5 separate regions of the Homo sapiens genome follow, and all the other regions are linked to region 4. The links are contacts of gene promoters, found by promoter capture Hi-C in blood cells and fetal thymus (Javierre and others, 2016). All regions are on one chromosome and are shown on one strand. Each heading gives the region's core, a stretch centred on a gene start or on the middle of the fragment in contact. The rest is flanking DNA. Distances are from core to core; before and after follow the strand shown. Region 1 has its middle 16 kb from the start of ABL2. Region 2 overlaps SOAT1 (sterol O-acyltransferase 1). Region 3 has its middle 30 kb from the start of SOAT1. Region 4 holds the start of TOR3A (torsin family 3 member A). Region 5 overlaps SOAT1 (sterol O-acyltransferase 1).

Region 1 (3,121 bases), core at 277-2,776, 160 kb before region 4:
CGGATCATCTGAGGTCAAAAGTTTGATACCAGACTGGCCAACGTGGAAAAACCCCGTTTCTACTAAAAATACAAAAATTAGCCGGGCATGGTGGCACATGCCTGTAATCCCAGCTACTCAGGAGGCTGAGGCAGGAGAGCACTTGAACCCAGGAGATGGAGGTTGCAGTGAGCCAAGATTGTGCCACTGCACTCCAGCCTGGGCAACAGAGCGAGACTCTGACTCAAAAAAAAAAAAAAAAAAAGAAAAGAAAAAAGAAAAATTTATACCAATTATGGGTTCAGAAATTATTTTAATGATTCTAATTTTTAAATGGTGATTGTATCAAGAAACTAAAGTTTATTATTAGCATTCAGTAGGCCCTTTTTTCCTGCTGCCTAACTTGCCTAACATCTTAGGATTACTTATTTCTCCATCAGTTTCTTCCATTTCTATCATATAGTCCTATATAAGAGATTCCTATATATTAACTTAGGTTATTATACTTATTAATTCAGGAAATAATTTTGAAACTGATGGTCAATATTCTCATCTTAAATTTTACAGGTAAATCTTGTTTTGAACCTTTCAGCTGTATTTCAAGTGGGAGTCTTACAGGTGTAGAAGATAGAAGATGAAAGGTGTTTTATGACGTAGGCTCCAAAATCAGAGTCAATTCTGCCATATTCATTGGTCAAAGCAAACCACAGGACCAGTCCAGATTCAAGGAAAAGAGAAACAGACTATACACTCTGAAGCACATTGGATATCATCATAAGTTAAACCTCTCTTTCTCAGGGGAAATGATTTTAAAGCACAGAGGTAATTTGAACCCGTGAAATTGAAGTTGAATTGCAAATAAATTACAGTTTTATTTTATTTTATTTTATTTTATTTTATTTTATTTTATTTTATTTTATTTTATTTTATTTTATGAGACAGGGTCTTACTCTGTCCCCAGGCTGGAGTGCAGTAGTCCAATCACAGCTCACTGCAGCCCCAACCTCCTGGGCTCAGATGATCCTCTCACCTCAGCCTCCCAGGTAGCTGGGACTACAGGCACACACCACCATACCCGGCTAACTTTTTGGATTTTTTATGGAGATAGGGTTTCACCATGTTGCCCAGGCTGGTCTTGAACTCCTGGGCTCAAGTGATCTGCCTGCCTCAGCCTCTCAAAGTGCTGAGATTACAGGTGTGAGCCACTGCACACAGCCCAAGTTACAGTTTTAGTACTGAAATTGAAAGTCTTGTTTAACTTGGCTATCCTTTCCTGGTGACACTTTTTTCTTTTTTCTTTTGAGACGGAGTTTCACTCTGTCACTCAGGCTGGAGTGCAGTGGCACAATCTTGGCTCACTGCAACCTCTGCCTCCTGGGTTCAAGTGATAGTCTCCTGAGTCAGCCTCTCAGGTAGCTGAGATTACAGGTGCTCAACACCACATCTGGCTAATTTTTTGTATTTTCAGTAGAGATGGGGTTTCACCATGTTGGTCAGGCTGGTCTCGAGCTCCTGACCTCAATTGATCCACCTGCCTCAGCCTCCCAAAATGCTGGGATTACAGGTGTGAGCCACTGTGCCCGACCTCTTTTTTTTTTTTTTTTAAGTTCTGAAGGGGGCTTATTTCTAAAAAAAATGAGTCTTTTTTTTCCATTGTGATTTTTTGTTGCAACCTACATGTAACAGTGAGCAACTCGGGGTGTTCCATTCATACCCTTCCCCGCTTTAAGGCTACTTAGGCCTCTTTAAAGATCATCAAATAGTTTTGGAGAAATGGCACATAAATTTCTGTTTTACTGTAATCCTTTTCTCCATTCTCATCTTCAGAATAATTTGCAAGTTAGAAATGAACATTCTTCTCATCCTATACTTTGAAAATATGATGTTATGGCAAGTCAATATTTTCTATGGCAGGCATCAATGATAGTCATCTTATAGGCACATGTCTAAATAGGCTACCTTCTTCCATTTCTGTCAAAAGTCTCATTGAGTGTTTCTACATGTCTTAAGAAAATTGAAAACTCACCAAAAACTTTTATTATTGTCTTAGCCTGTTTGAGCTGCTATAAAAAGATGCCTTAGACTGGGGTAATTTATAAACAACATGGGCCGGGCACGGTGGCTCACGCCTGTAATCCCAGCACTTTGGGAGGCCGAGGCGGGCGGATCACGAGGTCAGGAGATCGAGACCATCCTGACTAACACGGTGAAACCCCGTCTCTACTAAAAAATATACAAAAAAGTAGCCGGGCGTGGTGGCGGGCGCCTATAGTCCCAGCTACTCCGGAGGCTGAGGCAGGAGAATGGCATGAACCTGGGAGGCGGAGCTTGCAGCAAGCTGAGATTGCACCACTGCACTCCAGCCTGGGTGACAGAGTGAGACTCTGTCTTAAAAGTAAAAAATAAAATAAAATAAAATAAAGAACAGGGCCAGGAGTGGTGGCTTACGCCTGTGATCCTAGCACTTTGGGAGGCCAAGGTGGGCGGATCACCTGAGGTCAGGGATTTGAGACCAGTGTGGCCAACATGGTGAAACCCCATTTCTACTAAAAATACAAAAATTAGTCAGGTGTAGTGACGGGCGCCTGTAGTCTCAGCTACTTGGGAGGTTGAGGCAGGAGAATCACTTGAACCTAGGAGGTGGAAGTAGCAGTGAGCCGAGATTGCGCCGCTGCACTCCAGCCTGGGCGACAGAGTGAAACTTTGTCTCAAAAAAATAAAAATAAATAAATAAATAAACAGCAGGTATTTACTGCTCCCAGCTCTGGAGACTAGGAAGTCCAAGATCGTGGGGCCAGTAGATTTAGTGTCTGATGAGGGCTCACTCTTGGCTTCATAGATGGCATCTTCTTGTTGTGTCCTCATGTCGCAGAAGAATCCAGCAGCTTACTCAGGCCCTTTATAAGGTGTTAATCACATTAATGAGGGCTAGTCTTCATGACCTAATCATCCCCTAAAAGCACCACCTCTTAATACTATTGCACTGGGGATTAGGTTTCAACATAGGAATTTTGGAGGACACAAACATTCAGGGCACAAGTAAACAAATCATACATTGTCTTCGTCCATATTGTACTGCTGTAACAGGATACCACAGACTGGGTAATTTATAATAAACAGAAACTTATAGACTCACAGTTCT
Region 2 (2,992 bases), core at 96-2,595, 230 kb before region 4:
CCTTTTAATAAAGTGTCAAGTCATCTGTTATATTATGGGAACCGAGAAACATCAGACGTCATTATGTGCACAGACCTACACAGATAAGTGAATGAAACAGAATGGAATGAATACTGAAAACTGTGAAACAGAAAACCACAACGTCTAGTTTGCTATCTTCGTTAAAAAAAAAAAAAAACCTATGATGATGAACTATCACTTTGGCAGATGAATTTTTAAAATTGAGAATTTGTATTTTCTTATTTACTCTACATGGTAATAGCTTAAGTATTTTTTTTTTTTTTTTTGAGACGGAGTCTCGCTCTGTCACCCAGGCTGGAGGGTAGTGGCGCGATCTCGGCTCACTGCAAGCTCCGCCTCCTGGGTTCACACCATTCTCCTGCCTCAGCATCCCAAGTAGCTGGGACTACAGGCGCCCGCCACCACGCCCGGCTAATTTTTTGTATTTTTACTAGAGACAGGGTTTCACTGTGTTAGCCAGGATGGTCTCGATCTCCTGACCTCGTGATCCGCCCGCCTCGGCCTTCCAAAGTGCTAGGATTATAGGCGTGAGCCACCGCGCCAGGCCAGCTTAAGTATTTTTATTTCAGCATTGACAATTGCTATTGTATATTTTGCCTAAAAAGGAAGATTAAAAGCCATTCAAATTTATAAAAGTAATTTCCCAGAAAAAATACACTGAACAGAAATATTTACTTTGCCAAAATGAACTTTGGAGGCATATTTGGGGTAATTTAAGCTTAATAACCCCTTCCCTTAAAAACAAACCATAAAAACATAAAAACAAACTCATACACATACTGCTTTATAACCTGTTTTTTTCACTTAATATATTGTAAACATTTTTCTCTGTCATTACATATTCTTGTATATTATTTTCACTGCCCTATTACTCTGTTTTTATGGTAGAAATATAATTTAATCTTCTATTGGACATTTCTTTTCACAGTATGTCACTTGGAAGAAAGACATGAAGAATGAGAAGGTACAAAATGCATCTAATCAGAGCTCTATACAGAGAGATAATATTTGAGGTGATTATAGCTGAGAATTGGCCAGAACTGTTGAGAGACACAAATTCTAGGATAAAGTCAAAGAATTCCAAGCAGGATAAATAATCTACTTAGTGCCAGGCGTGGTGGCTCACGCCTGTAATCCCAGCACTGTGGGAAGCCAAGGCAGGTGGATCACCTGAGGTCGGCAGTTTGAGACCAGCCTGACCAACATGGAGAAGCCCTGTCTACTAAAAATACAAAATTAGCTGGCGTGGTGGCACATGCCTGTAATCCCAGCTACTCAAGAGGCTAAGGCAGGAGTATCGCTTGAACCCGGGAGGTGGAGGTTGCGGTGAGCCGAGATCATACCATTGCACTCCAGCCTGGGCAACAAGAGTGAAACTCCATCTCAAAAGAAAAAATAATAATAATAATCGACTTAGATATATCACAGTGAAACTGTCTGACGCAGGGGTTAAAAAAAAAAACTAAAAGCACCCAGAAAGAATATCAACTACGCAAGTACTGCAATTACAACGCATACCTGACTTAACATCAATGGAAGCCAGGAGACAGTGGAATGTCTTCAATTATCGATAATGGCAGAATTGATGACTGGGAAGAAGGCTAGGTCATATAATAACAAGGGCTTTGAGGAAACTAAGAATTTTATGCAGGAAAATACTGAGCTGATATTGGAAGATGGAAAGGACCACATAACAGAGAAATGCAATAAATCCGGACAAAAAGTGATGTTGTAAATGGCAAGGAGAATGGAGAGCAGAGGATTAATTTAAGATATTTACAAATTGGTAACTGATTAAGAAATATAAGGGTAAGACAAATGTCCATTTGATTTTTCAATAAGTTAAAGAATATATTTTTAATTTAGTTCTATGACCAGACCATGGTTTCATAAATGAACTATTTCATAAAAAAATGAAGACAAAAGCTTCTTTCCTTCAACTAATTCAGCTACCATGGGAGAGGAGGATTGGTAAGGAGACTGTAAAAGATTAATTCTCACTACTTGTGCATCCCTTCCAAAAAGAATCTGTCTATCCATAAATAACACGACAGCCATCATTACAAACAGGCTTTGAGATGCAGCCACTGGAAAGTTAGAAAAAAGATTTGTTCACAGAGTCTCTGAAGACCCCACTGAAAATGACAAAGTTAAGTAAGTGGAAGAAAAATATATTTTAAAATGCTAATTCATTTTCCTTTACCTTCAAAATACCTCTTCATACAATATTACAAAGAAATTCTTAACTTTCTACAATTTAAAATTTAAAAATTAGATGTCAAAGTCAAAAGAATGCCTAAAAGCTAATATCCACTGCTTTTTTTTTTTTAAGACAGGTTCTCACTCTGTTGCTCAGGCTAGGGGGCAGTGGCTATGGCATGATCATAGCTCACTGTGGCCTGGAACTCCTAGGCTCAAGGGATCCTCCCGCCTCAGCCTCCCAAGTACCTAGGACTACAGGCACATGCCACCACACTCACATGCCACCACACCCACCTAATTAAAAAAAATTTTTTTGTAAAGGCAGAGCCTCGCTATGTTGCCCAGGCTGGTCTTGAACTCCTGGCCTCCAGCAATCCTCATGCCTTGGCCTCTGAAACTGTTGGGATTACAAGGATGAGCCACCATCCCCACCCACATCCAATGATTTGAAGAACTATTTACAAGCACTCAACTCAAGGCTTCTCAATTTCTAAAACACTGACCCTGAAACAATGATAAGCCAGGACTGAGGGTGATGTAATTTCGGAATCATTTGCCTCCCTCTAGTAACACACTAACTGCTAACACTAGGAGTCAGTTATTTGCTATCTGAAACTTAATAGAACCCCGCATAAGTCCATAAGGAAAACTATTCAACATTTTTTCCCTTAAATTTCTGATTTCTAAAAAAATCAGGCTTGCAATACTTATCTTCATGAATAAATGCTATCTCTTTTAAAACCTGCTATACTTAATGGGAATGTTTAAA
Region 3 (3,253 bases), core at 249-2,748, 180 kb before region 4:
ATTCCTTGGGATTTCTCTGAGGTCCAGGTTTAAAGCACCTTCTTCCAGAGAGTATTTGAATTTGCTCTCCCAGGTAATTCTGCCAGGTGGAGCAGTACCAATCTAAGGCCACTTTAAATTTGTATCTAGGGATTTTAGGGATTTGCTTTTGTTGTTGTTGTTGTTGTTGTTGTTTTGCATGGTTAGGAACTTTCATAAAAACATATTTTTCCTCTGACAAAACTTAAGTTGAGACAGACAAGCATCCCTGACAAATCCTGCCATTTTTTTTTAAATTTACCTGCTGAAGTGAAGTATCTTTGTGGGGGGCGGGGGGCGGTTCCCAAATCCATGCAGGGGCTTCCATCCAATCTTGCACCATAAAGGGCTAAGTCTTAGTTTTCTCCCCTGCTCACTGAATCTACTAGAACCCAAGCATTAGGCCACCCATGTAGACAAATGCCCCCAGAGCAAATATTAACATTTGAGTGCACTGTTGATTTCAAGTCTTCCTACCAACTGAGCCATACATATTAAAGCTTTTTGAGTGTGCGTGTGTGTGTGTGTGTGTGTGTGTGTGTAAACACACACACATATGGTTTAATTGGGAGGCCATTAGGCTGAGATGGCTTCAGCACCTTGGGTTCCTACCCAAGCAAACCAAAGTTCAATGTAAATGGCAAAAGAAAACTTAAGCCTAACCAATCAGAAGCCATCAATTAACTTCTAACTAGGGATTTCCACGTTAACCAATCAAATATATTTTATTTGTCTTGCTTCCACAAACACGTCATAAAAGTTTGTCTCTCATTCCCCTTGGATCACTTCACTGCTTGCAGGCTGGTGCTGCCCCACTCATGCATTGCTGAATGCTCAAGTAAACTCATTAAAATATTAATGTGGTCAAGTTTATCTTTTAACCATTTGTATGTGTGTGATGTGTGTGTGTGTGTGTGTGTGCGTGTATTCCATCATTTTTAGGGGTTGCATGCCAGGAGGATTTTTCTGGACACCTAATCTTTCATACTGCCCCAAATGAAAAATCTGACAAAACATATTAATTGTGCAGACATTCACACACCCCCACTAAAAAAATAAAATCTTTAAGTAAACACTACTCTCTGGGAAAATGCTTATCTTTTGATTTCTTTTACCCCCTGGATATTCTTGCATTAATCATGTTCAAGGAACACAGTGGAGGAGTGAAAGGTTGGATTGAAGCCACATTTAAAATAGTCCTAAATGCAAAAATAGGAATATAAGACTATTTGGATTTCCAAACTGTCACTTTTGTGATTCAATAGATTGAAACTCCATGGCAGGCATAGTTCCAATTGGCAATAGTTATTTTTTTCAAGTAGATTCCTTCATTCAAACTGTTGAGTGACTCCTACAAATCTAACACTGGATTAATGCTGCATGGAACAAAGGAAATGATGAAAGACGCAGTTCTACCCTGAAGTAATTTGTAAGCAAATCTCAGAAACATTTCTTGTACGCAAATAATTATGATGTAAAGCAAAATATGACAGGTGCTAAATAAATGGTGAGAGTTCAGAGAGCTAAAGAAGTTAAAAGTCAGAAGCAGTATTTCTAGCTAGGAGTGCAGGTAGAGTGACCAATCGTCCTGGTTTGCTGGAGACTGAGGGATCTCCTGGGATGCAGAACCTCCAGTGAGAAAACCAGGATAGTCCTAAGATAACCAGGACAGTTGATCACCTAATAAAGGCGGATGTATAGAAAGAAGCAGAAAAGGCTTCATACAAGATAGGAGATGGAAGTTGAAAAAGACCTTGTGGAATTAATTGGATTGGATTGGCTACCTTTGTTAATACATTTAACATAAACACAACATTAACTTCCTCCTCTACTTCTCAATAGCAGTCCTAGCAACTGTGTAGTGATTCCATTCTTGCTTCAAAAGACAAAGTTACCAAAAAAAAAATTAGTTTAAATATCTAATTGACTTTCATCTGCAATTCAAGAAACAGGTAACATCTCATCCTACATAAAAGAATGGCGTTTCACGGAGCTGATAAGAGGGGATTGGCTTTATAGGCAAAAAAGCACTGAAGAAAGTAGAAAGATAACAAAAGGGAGATTGGTCTTTCAGCTACTTTTCTTATAGGGTTAAAACAGAGGGAACTTTCTAACATGCTTGGTCAGGTAAACTGGGCCCCTTCTGATTGGTTGCTGTGAATCTCCTGGTTGGTTGGTTTTAACTGACAATTTCAAAGTTCAGTTGATTATATGGCACTTAGTTTCAGTGACTCCATTCTGGTTTGGCCTGGTCTGTTGGGCCAGTGCAGAAGCTCAGTCCAAAACAATGGCCTCCCATAAATTTTATTTAACAGTTGTATTTGCTTTAGATTGTCATACAGGTTGAAATCCTTTATTCAGCCATTGATTTCTGGTTTCACTACTGTACTTGTGTATCCTAGACAGTTTTCTAATTTTCAGTTGCTGTACATCCCTTCAACACTGAGTTAAAAAAGCTTTTTGGAATGCTTCTTCCCCCCAAATGTATTAAATTATAATAGAGTATTTGTGGCAATTATGCCCTTGGGTCAACAATTGGAAGGCTGCTTAGAAACATCAAATTGGTCTTCACTGACTACAGATCCTCATAAGCAATAGCTGACCACGCTTTAAATTAAAGAGGAGAAAAGGTGTTTGCCTACTTGGAATACTATAAACCAGTGCTTCTCAAACTTTAACATACGTACAAACTACCCCGAGTTTCCCCTATCTTGTTAAAATGCAAATTTTGACACGTGGAACTGAGGTTCTTATTTCTAACAAGCTCCCAGCTGATTTCATTGCTATTGGTCCTAGGACCACACTTTAAGCAGCAAGGCTATAAAGCAGACAGGCCCTTTAAGTGACTTGTACCTTCCTAAATTTCCCTGCACCCCCTAAAATTTTTTTACGTTGCTATTAAGTCTGAAATTCCACCAATTACATTTCTGTAAAATGAGCTGTAGATTTATTCACAACTTAATATTAATTCTTTTAATCTAATAGTTTTCCTCATCATATCCACTGAGTTGGGAACTTTTATGTATGAACATTGGTTTTTATAAATAAGGAATTTTAATAATGAGGCACTGTGTACGAAAGAGTGAACAAAACAGTGGGCAGAAGGGGGTTAGAAAGAGGTGGGTGTTTGGCAGCTTGCAAAGTATGATGAAAGCAGAGACACCTGGGGTCAGGGCAAAGGCTTTATGAGGAAGTAGGAGGAGGTGAAGAAAGAGAGGTGTGAGGCTACCTGTAC
Region 4 (3,059 bases), core at 66-2,565:
ACTTTTAATCACAACCCAGAATTTCTGATCAGTTCTCTCTGGATAGTTCCAGCCCCCTCTGAGAGGTAGCTGTTTCTGTTTAGAGTGAAACAAGGTGCTCTGGGCCTGACAAACAGCTCAGTTTGCCTGGGCTATTAAGCTAGAGGCTAAAAAGGGGCTTCCCTGACTCAAGCATTTGGTACTCCCTCAAAACTTCAGTCAGACTGTGGCAGTTCCTGCTTGTCGGGAGGCTGGGCAGGATGACGAAAGGTCCCTTGCATCTAACCATTTCCCCTGGACTGCCTCCCCTCCCCACAGATCCCTAGCCCCTTGAAGCCATGCGGGGTCCAACCTGTAAAGTTGTTGGAGATTCTGCAATCCCCTCTAGGGCAGCAGTCTTTGAAGCTGCAGTACCACGTGGTCAGGAGGTCCAGGTACCGCTGGCCCAACAGAGGAAGGCGCCAGCCTGGAAAAGGAGGAGCTGTGAGACCGAGAGGAGACCATCCGGTGCTCTACAGTGATGCGGCAACCTTGCCACACAACTTGTCAGGGACAGAGGGACACCCAGAACTCAGATTCTAACTCCCAGCCCCGACTCGGCCCACTGTCGGTCCTCAAGCCCTGCGTCCAAAAGCAGCAAGGGAGACGGCAGTCACCAGGCATGTCCACAGCGGACGTTCCCTAGAGCTGTCAAGAGCAACACCTTCGAATAACGCCAGGGTGGGCTGGGAGATGGCACAGGCGGTGCGAGAGAATCTGGAAAGCGCAGGGATCAGGGGAGGCGGGGGACGGGAAGCCGGGCGCCAGGGGGGTGCGCAGGGGACGCGGGTGGGGCAAGGGCGGTGATGGGGCTCCCTGCTCCGCGGAGGCTGCCCCCGCCCACAGCCGGTACCGGCGGCTGAGCAGAGCAGGACTGCGGGCCCAGATGTCGCCCCGGACAGGAGCGAGGCGACCACAGCCGCGCCCGGATCGCACTCTGCTCCGCAGCGAACGGCGGACCGTGGGGACGGGGTCTTACCCAGGGGCCCCGTGGCTGCCTCCTCGTCCTCGTCACAGTCGTCGGGCCACACCTGGCAGCTGAAGAGCGTCCAGTACCGCTTGGAGAGGGCACCCGCCGCCCTGAGCTGCTCCTGCAGGCGCTGGAAGCCCGGCCAGGCCCAGGCCGAGCCCGGCTCGTCGGTTCCCTCCCACGGCCTGGAGGCGCCGCGGGGCTCAGGCGCGCCCGGGAGCAGCAGCAGGAAAAAGAGCCAAAGCTGGCGCCACGGACCGCGAAGCATGGCCGGCCCCGAGCTGCGGGACCATCCGGCTGCCGGCCTAGCCAGGCTCCCTTAAGCCCGGGGCGGTCAGGCGGGGACCGCACTTCCTAGGCGGGCTTGAACCCGGGATTGGTGTTGCTGTGGCGACCGGCGGGCCGGGCTGAGTGCGCACTGGCAGCCTCCGTACACGTGACCCAGGCGGGAACCCGAAACCCTGTCTGGGGTCCTGAGAGGCAGTCCCGAGACTGACTTCAGGCCAGGTGCAACTAGCCGGCTTCCAGGAAGCAGTTTATTCTGGGTCGTGATTGTGGTTGCAAAGAAGGTGAACTCAGGCTTTGAAATGGCCACTGTCAATCACTCCGCTAGGACTTTCGGACGGCTCTGGTGGCCCATCAGAGGCCTACCGAATAAGGACACTCCTGCTTTGCCTCGCGTTTGCAGATCAACTTCCCGCCAACCTGTTAGAGGAAGCCGGAAAACCGTCTCAGTCAGGAGCGTTAGGCAGGCCAGGGGAGTCAGCTGAGTGGAGAAGAGGCCCTGGAAAGAAGGGCACAGCTAGGTGCCTGTCTGGCCAAGGTTGCCCTGGCTCCTCCGCAGAGGGAAATGAAACCGCAGCAAAACACCAGCAGGTTTCCACAGTGGGAGTCCACGAAAAGCAAGAGGAAGCTGATTGACGGGCTCCAGTCTGGAGGTGTTTGGAGTTTGGAAACCCCCCGAGTCATGGGTAAATCATGAGGCGTCATGTCAATGTAATTATATCTCATAAAAATCCGAAGTACTGTGTGCACTTTCTTGACTAGGTTTGCAACTTTCAAGTGCTGGGACTGAGCAGCCCATCCGACACCATTGGCAAAAGACTACAGGGCCTCTTTCCCTCAGCGCTCTCTTCTCCATAGCGAGGAGCATGGAACAAGGCTGTTAGATTTCAGAAGAGCTTAATGCATTGTTTAAAATCACCTGGCTTACTTCAGCCAAGCCAAAAAGCCGTCTTGTCTTAGGAGAAAACTGCTGTCTAGAGAGATCAGAGGACTTGGCTAATGTCATATGTTTAGTGGCTTTGAGGTTGGGCCCTCCAGACAGTAAGGTGAATACTAGCACCGTGTCTCACAAATGTCACAGGCAACTTGATTCATCTGTTCACCCCAGTCTCTTAGATCACACCGTGCCAGGTCTGCTCCATTCTCAGCAGCTCACCAAATTTGTGCCTTTCATTCGAACAGCTACAGAAACTAGATAAAGCACCTTTGCTAGGACACGAGGTTGAGTTGAAAAGTAAAATGTTTATAGTGTCTCAGCCATTCAGTGTGATGTCAAAAACTTTTCATAGAGTAGCAGCCATGGCACCAGCCCAGCACTGTGTACATCGAGCTTGCGGAGTCCACCGGAGACAGTTAACAGCACATACACCACAGTGCTTATTGGAAAACCAAAAAAAATTAGGCAGGGTGTGGTGGCTCACGCCTGTAATCCTAGCACTTTAGAAGGCCGAGGCGGGCGGATCACCTGAGATCAGGAGTTCGAGACCAGCCTGGCCAACATGGTGAAACCCAGTCTCTACTAAAAATCCAAAAATTAGCTGAGTGTGATGGTGCGCATCTGTAATCCCAGCTACTCAGGAGGCTGAGGCAGGAGAATGGCTTGAACCCAGGGGGCAGAGGTTGCAGTGAGCCAAGATGGTACCACTGCACTCCAGCCTGGGTGACAGAGCAGGGCTCCATCTCAAAAAAAAAAAAAAAAGAAAAAAGAGAAAAGAAAAAAAATTAACTCACTCAACAAATGTCGTTTGAGTCTGAATGGCAGTCTAATATAGTGATTACCATTTTC
Region 5 (3,216 bases), core at 573-3,072, 220 kb before region 4:
AAGTTTTCAAGAGTCTAAAGCAAGAAGAAAACAACTGTGAAATACTCATTACATTATTTTAAAGCTATATATATTTAAATTCTGAGACTACAGTTTTTCTTAATTTTTGTACTAAAATATCCTTTTCTGTATAAAAGGATGAAATATAGTACATGGTGGGTTTGGTTGTTTTTCAACTATCACAGCTTGGCAAAGTAAAAATCTGACAAATCTAGATCGGCTTTCTTCTAATTATTTCTGAAATCAAACAAATGAAACAATTGTGGAACAGCAGATGAATATATCAAGTAGAAATGTTATGATATCATAAGATCTAATTAAGAGGAACTTAAGGGAAAAGTCAGGGCTAATAAATCACAAGACGATGCCCAACTTACAATGGTCCAATTCTGTGTAAAAGTGACAGAGGAAGCCACAAGAGCATCTATCTCTTCATCAGAAATGATGAGAGAAGTAAGAACTGAAAACTAAACTTTGAGGGACAGCCTCAAAGTAGAGGAAATCAGGGAAGAAAAAGAAAGACACAAAAGGAACCAAGATGTTTCAGTAAGAGAGGAATTTTACAAGGAATAATGGGAATTTTTTTTTTTCTGGCCAGATGAACAGAGACTTTTTTTTTCTGGCCAGATGATGGGGAATTTAAAGTAGATACTCTTTTAAAGAGCATATAGCAAAAGTTTAAAGCATAAAAGACAGCAAAATGAAGCCGGGTGCGGTGGCTCATGCCTGTAATCCCAGCACTTTGGGAGGCTGAGGTGGGCAGATCATGAAGTCAGGAGATCAAGACCATCCTGGCTAATACAGTGAAACCCCATCTCTACGAAAAATACAAAAAAAAAAAAAATTAGCTGGGCATGGGGGCAGGCGCCTGTAGTCCCAGCTACTCGGGAGGCTGAGGCAGGAGAATGGCATGAACCCAGGAGGCGGAGCTTGCAGTGAGCTGAGATCACACCACTGTACTCCAGCCTGGGCAACAGAGCAAGACTCCGTCTCAAAAAAAAAAAAAAAAAAAAAAAAAAGATAGCAAAATGATTAAAAAATAAATGCCAGATTAAAGTTTATTACCCAAGCCATATGAAACAGTATAGCACAATGCAATATTTCTCAAAGTAGAATAATAACAGCTGATTTTTTTTAGTGCTTATGTGTTTTACATGTATTATTTTCATCTCAACAGAATCAAGACAGATACTATTGTTATTTTCCAAATATTCTTTGGCCACCATAGTGTCCCATATACTCTTCCCTGTCTATAGAAAGCTATTTCTCCTCTGCCCTTTTTTTATGTAGCTAACTCCTACTCAAGCCTTCAAAGAATCACAGCTACAGCAGTAATAGAATTAATACCAACAGTTCTGATTTAATGAGCACCTATTATGTACCTCTAGGCACTGTGCTGCTAAACTTTTTACATTACATTTAATCTTTACAACCTTAGATAAGTATTATCCTCATTTTACAGATGAGTTTAGGGAAGTGATTTAACTTGTCCCAAATCAAATAATTCTCCAACAGCAGAACTAGAATTCAAAACAAAGACTATCAGATTCTACAACCTGCCCTCTAATCGCTAAACCGCCTCCAACTCACCCTCTGAAGTTTCCTTTACCACCACCTCTCATCTCATCCTCTCTGCGGTCCCACTACACTGAGCATCCTGTCACATGTTACATTGTCCTATAATCAGAGAGCAATACTCTCTGTCTCTTACATTAGGCTTAAGTTCTCAAAGATAGGGATTACATAGTATTTTCTGTAAGACTCCCCCAAATCTAGTGTGGAGTACCTGGAGTACAACAGGCAGGCATTAAGAAAGAAAGCAAATGTATCAGTTAATATGTAACCAATTATTCTAAGCACAAGACAGTCCCCAACTTATGATGGTTCAATTTAAAATTTTTCAACTTTATGATGGTGCAAAAGCAACATGCATTCTGTGGAAATCATATTTTGAGTACTCATACAACTATTCTGTTTTTCACTTTCAGTATAGTATTCAATAAATTACATGAGATAATGAACACTTTATTGTAAAATAGTCTGTGTTCAATAATTTTGCCCAACTGTAGGCTAATATTAAGTGTTTGGAGCATATTTAAGGTACACTAGGCTAAAACTACCCAAAAAACATTTAGCCCGGCGTGGTGGCAAGCACCTGTAATCCCATCTACTCAGGAGGCTGAGGCAGGAAAATCACTTGAACCCAGGAGGCGAAGGTTGCAGTGAGCACAGGTCGCACCTCTGCACTCCAGCCCAGACAACAGAGTGAAACCCTGTCTCCAAAAGAAGAAATATAAAAAGGGAGTCCTTGGTAATAAGATGGTTCCTCAACCATCAAGCTACTCTAGAGGAAACCTTACATCAAAAGCTAAAACAGGGCCGGGCATGGTGGAATACATCTGTAATCCCAGCACTTTGGGAGGCCGAGGTGGGCAGATCACCAGGTCAGGAGATCGAGACCATCCTGGCTAGCCTAGCACGGTGAAACCTCGTCTCTACTAAAAATACAAAAAATTAGCCAGGTGTGGTGGCAGGCACCTGTAGTCCCAGCTACTCAGGAGGCTGAGGCAGAAGAATCGCTTGAACCCGGAGGTGGAGGTTGCAGTGAACCTCAATCACACCATTGCACTCAAGTTAGATCAAGTCACTTCACAACTTAAACCCCTTCAAACATCCTAAGTCCTTACCATGATCTAGTAACTTCTGCATTGCCTGCCACTCACCACCACCCCCTTAAACACCATCAATCTTTTTTTTTTTTTGAGACAGAGTTTCACTCTTGTTGGTCAGACTGGAGTGCAATGGCACGATCTCAGCTCACCGCAACCTCCGCCTCCTGGATTCAAGCGATTCTCCTGCCTCAGCCTCTGGAGCAGCTGGGGTTACAGGCCACCACACCCAGCTAATTTTGTATTTTTAGTAGAGATGGGGTGTCGAACTCCCAACCTCAGGTGATCCGCCTGCCTCGGCCTCCCAAAGTGCTGGGATTACAGGTGTGAGCCACCGCGCCCGGCATTTTTTTTTTTTTTTTGAGACGGAGTCATGCCATGTCGCCCAGGTTGAAGTGCAGTGGCATGATCTTGGCTGTCTCATTTTCTCTACTCATTACTTTGGCCTTCCACTGTTTCTTAAACAAGCGCACCGGCTCACGCCTGTAATCCCAGCACTTTGGGAGGCTGAGGCGGGTGGATCACAAGGTCAGGAATTCTAGACTGG

The links. The method cuts DNA at HindIII sites, captures the fragments that hold promoters and counts their contacts. A CHiCAGO score of 5 or more calls a contact.
Region 1: a fragment that was not itself captured here is called in contact with the fragment with the promoter of TOR3A in region 4 in 1 of 17 cell types (non-activated CD4 T cells); the score reaches 5.4 in non-activated CD4 T cells.
Region 2: a fragment that was not itself captured here is called in contact with the fragment with the promoter of TOR3A in region 4 in 13 of 17 cell types (naive CD4 T cells, total CD8 T cells, monocytes and 10 more); the score reaches 12.1 in naive CD4 T cells.
Region 3: a contact is called between a fragment that was not itself captured here and the fragment with the promoter of TOR3A in region 4, in 1 of 17 cell types (non-activated CD4 T cells). The highest score is 5.4, in non-activated CD4 T cells.
Region 5: a contact is called between a fragment that was not itself captured here and the fragment with the promoter of TOR3A in region 4, in 17 of 17 cell types (naive CD8 T cells, non-activated CD4 T cells, monocytes and 14 more). The highest score is 13.4, in naive CD8 T cells.

What each region holds. Positions count from the first base shown.
Region 1 is chr1:179,243,746-179,246,866 of GRCh38, reverse strand. No RefSeq gene overlaps it. Among named protein-coding and RNA genes, the nearest start is that of ABL2, 16 kb to the right of the region's middle. The HindIII fragment of the contact is 3,685 bases long and covers 1-3,121 here.
Region 2 is chr1:179,314,828-179,317,819 of GRCh38, reverse strand. All of the region lies in intron 2 of SOAT1 (sterol O-acyltransferase 1), which reads right to left. Among named protein-coding and RNA genes, the nearest start is that of SOAT1, 23 kb to the right of the region's middle. The HindIII fragment of the contact is 1,208 bases long and covers 742-1,949 here.
Region 3 is chr1:179,262,303-179,265,555 of GRCh38, reverse strand. No RefSeq gene overlaps it. Among named protein-coding and RNA genes, the nearest start is that of SOAT1, 30 kb to the left of the region's middle. The HindIII fragment of the contact is 1,956 bases long and covers 521-2,476 here.
Region 4 is chr1:179,080,326-179,083,384 of GRCh38, reverse strand. TOR3A (torsin family 3 member A) reads right to left here and starts at 1,315. Exons shown (of 6, transcript NM_022371.4): 1 at 998-1,315; 2 at 332-445. The coding sequence starts at 1,256. RefSeq lists silencers at 741-910, 1,051-1,340. The HindIII fragment of the contact is 9,470 bases long and covers 1-3,059 here.
Region 5 is chr1:179,297,549-179,300,764 of GRCh38, reverse strand. All of the region lies in intron 1 of SOAT1 (sterol O-acyltransferase 1), which reads right to left. Among named protein-coding and RNA genes, the nearest start is that of SOAT1, 5.4 kb to the right of the region's middle. The HindIII fragment of the contact is 7,420 bases long and covers 1-3,216 here.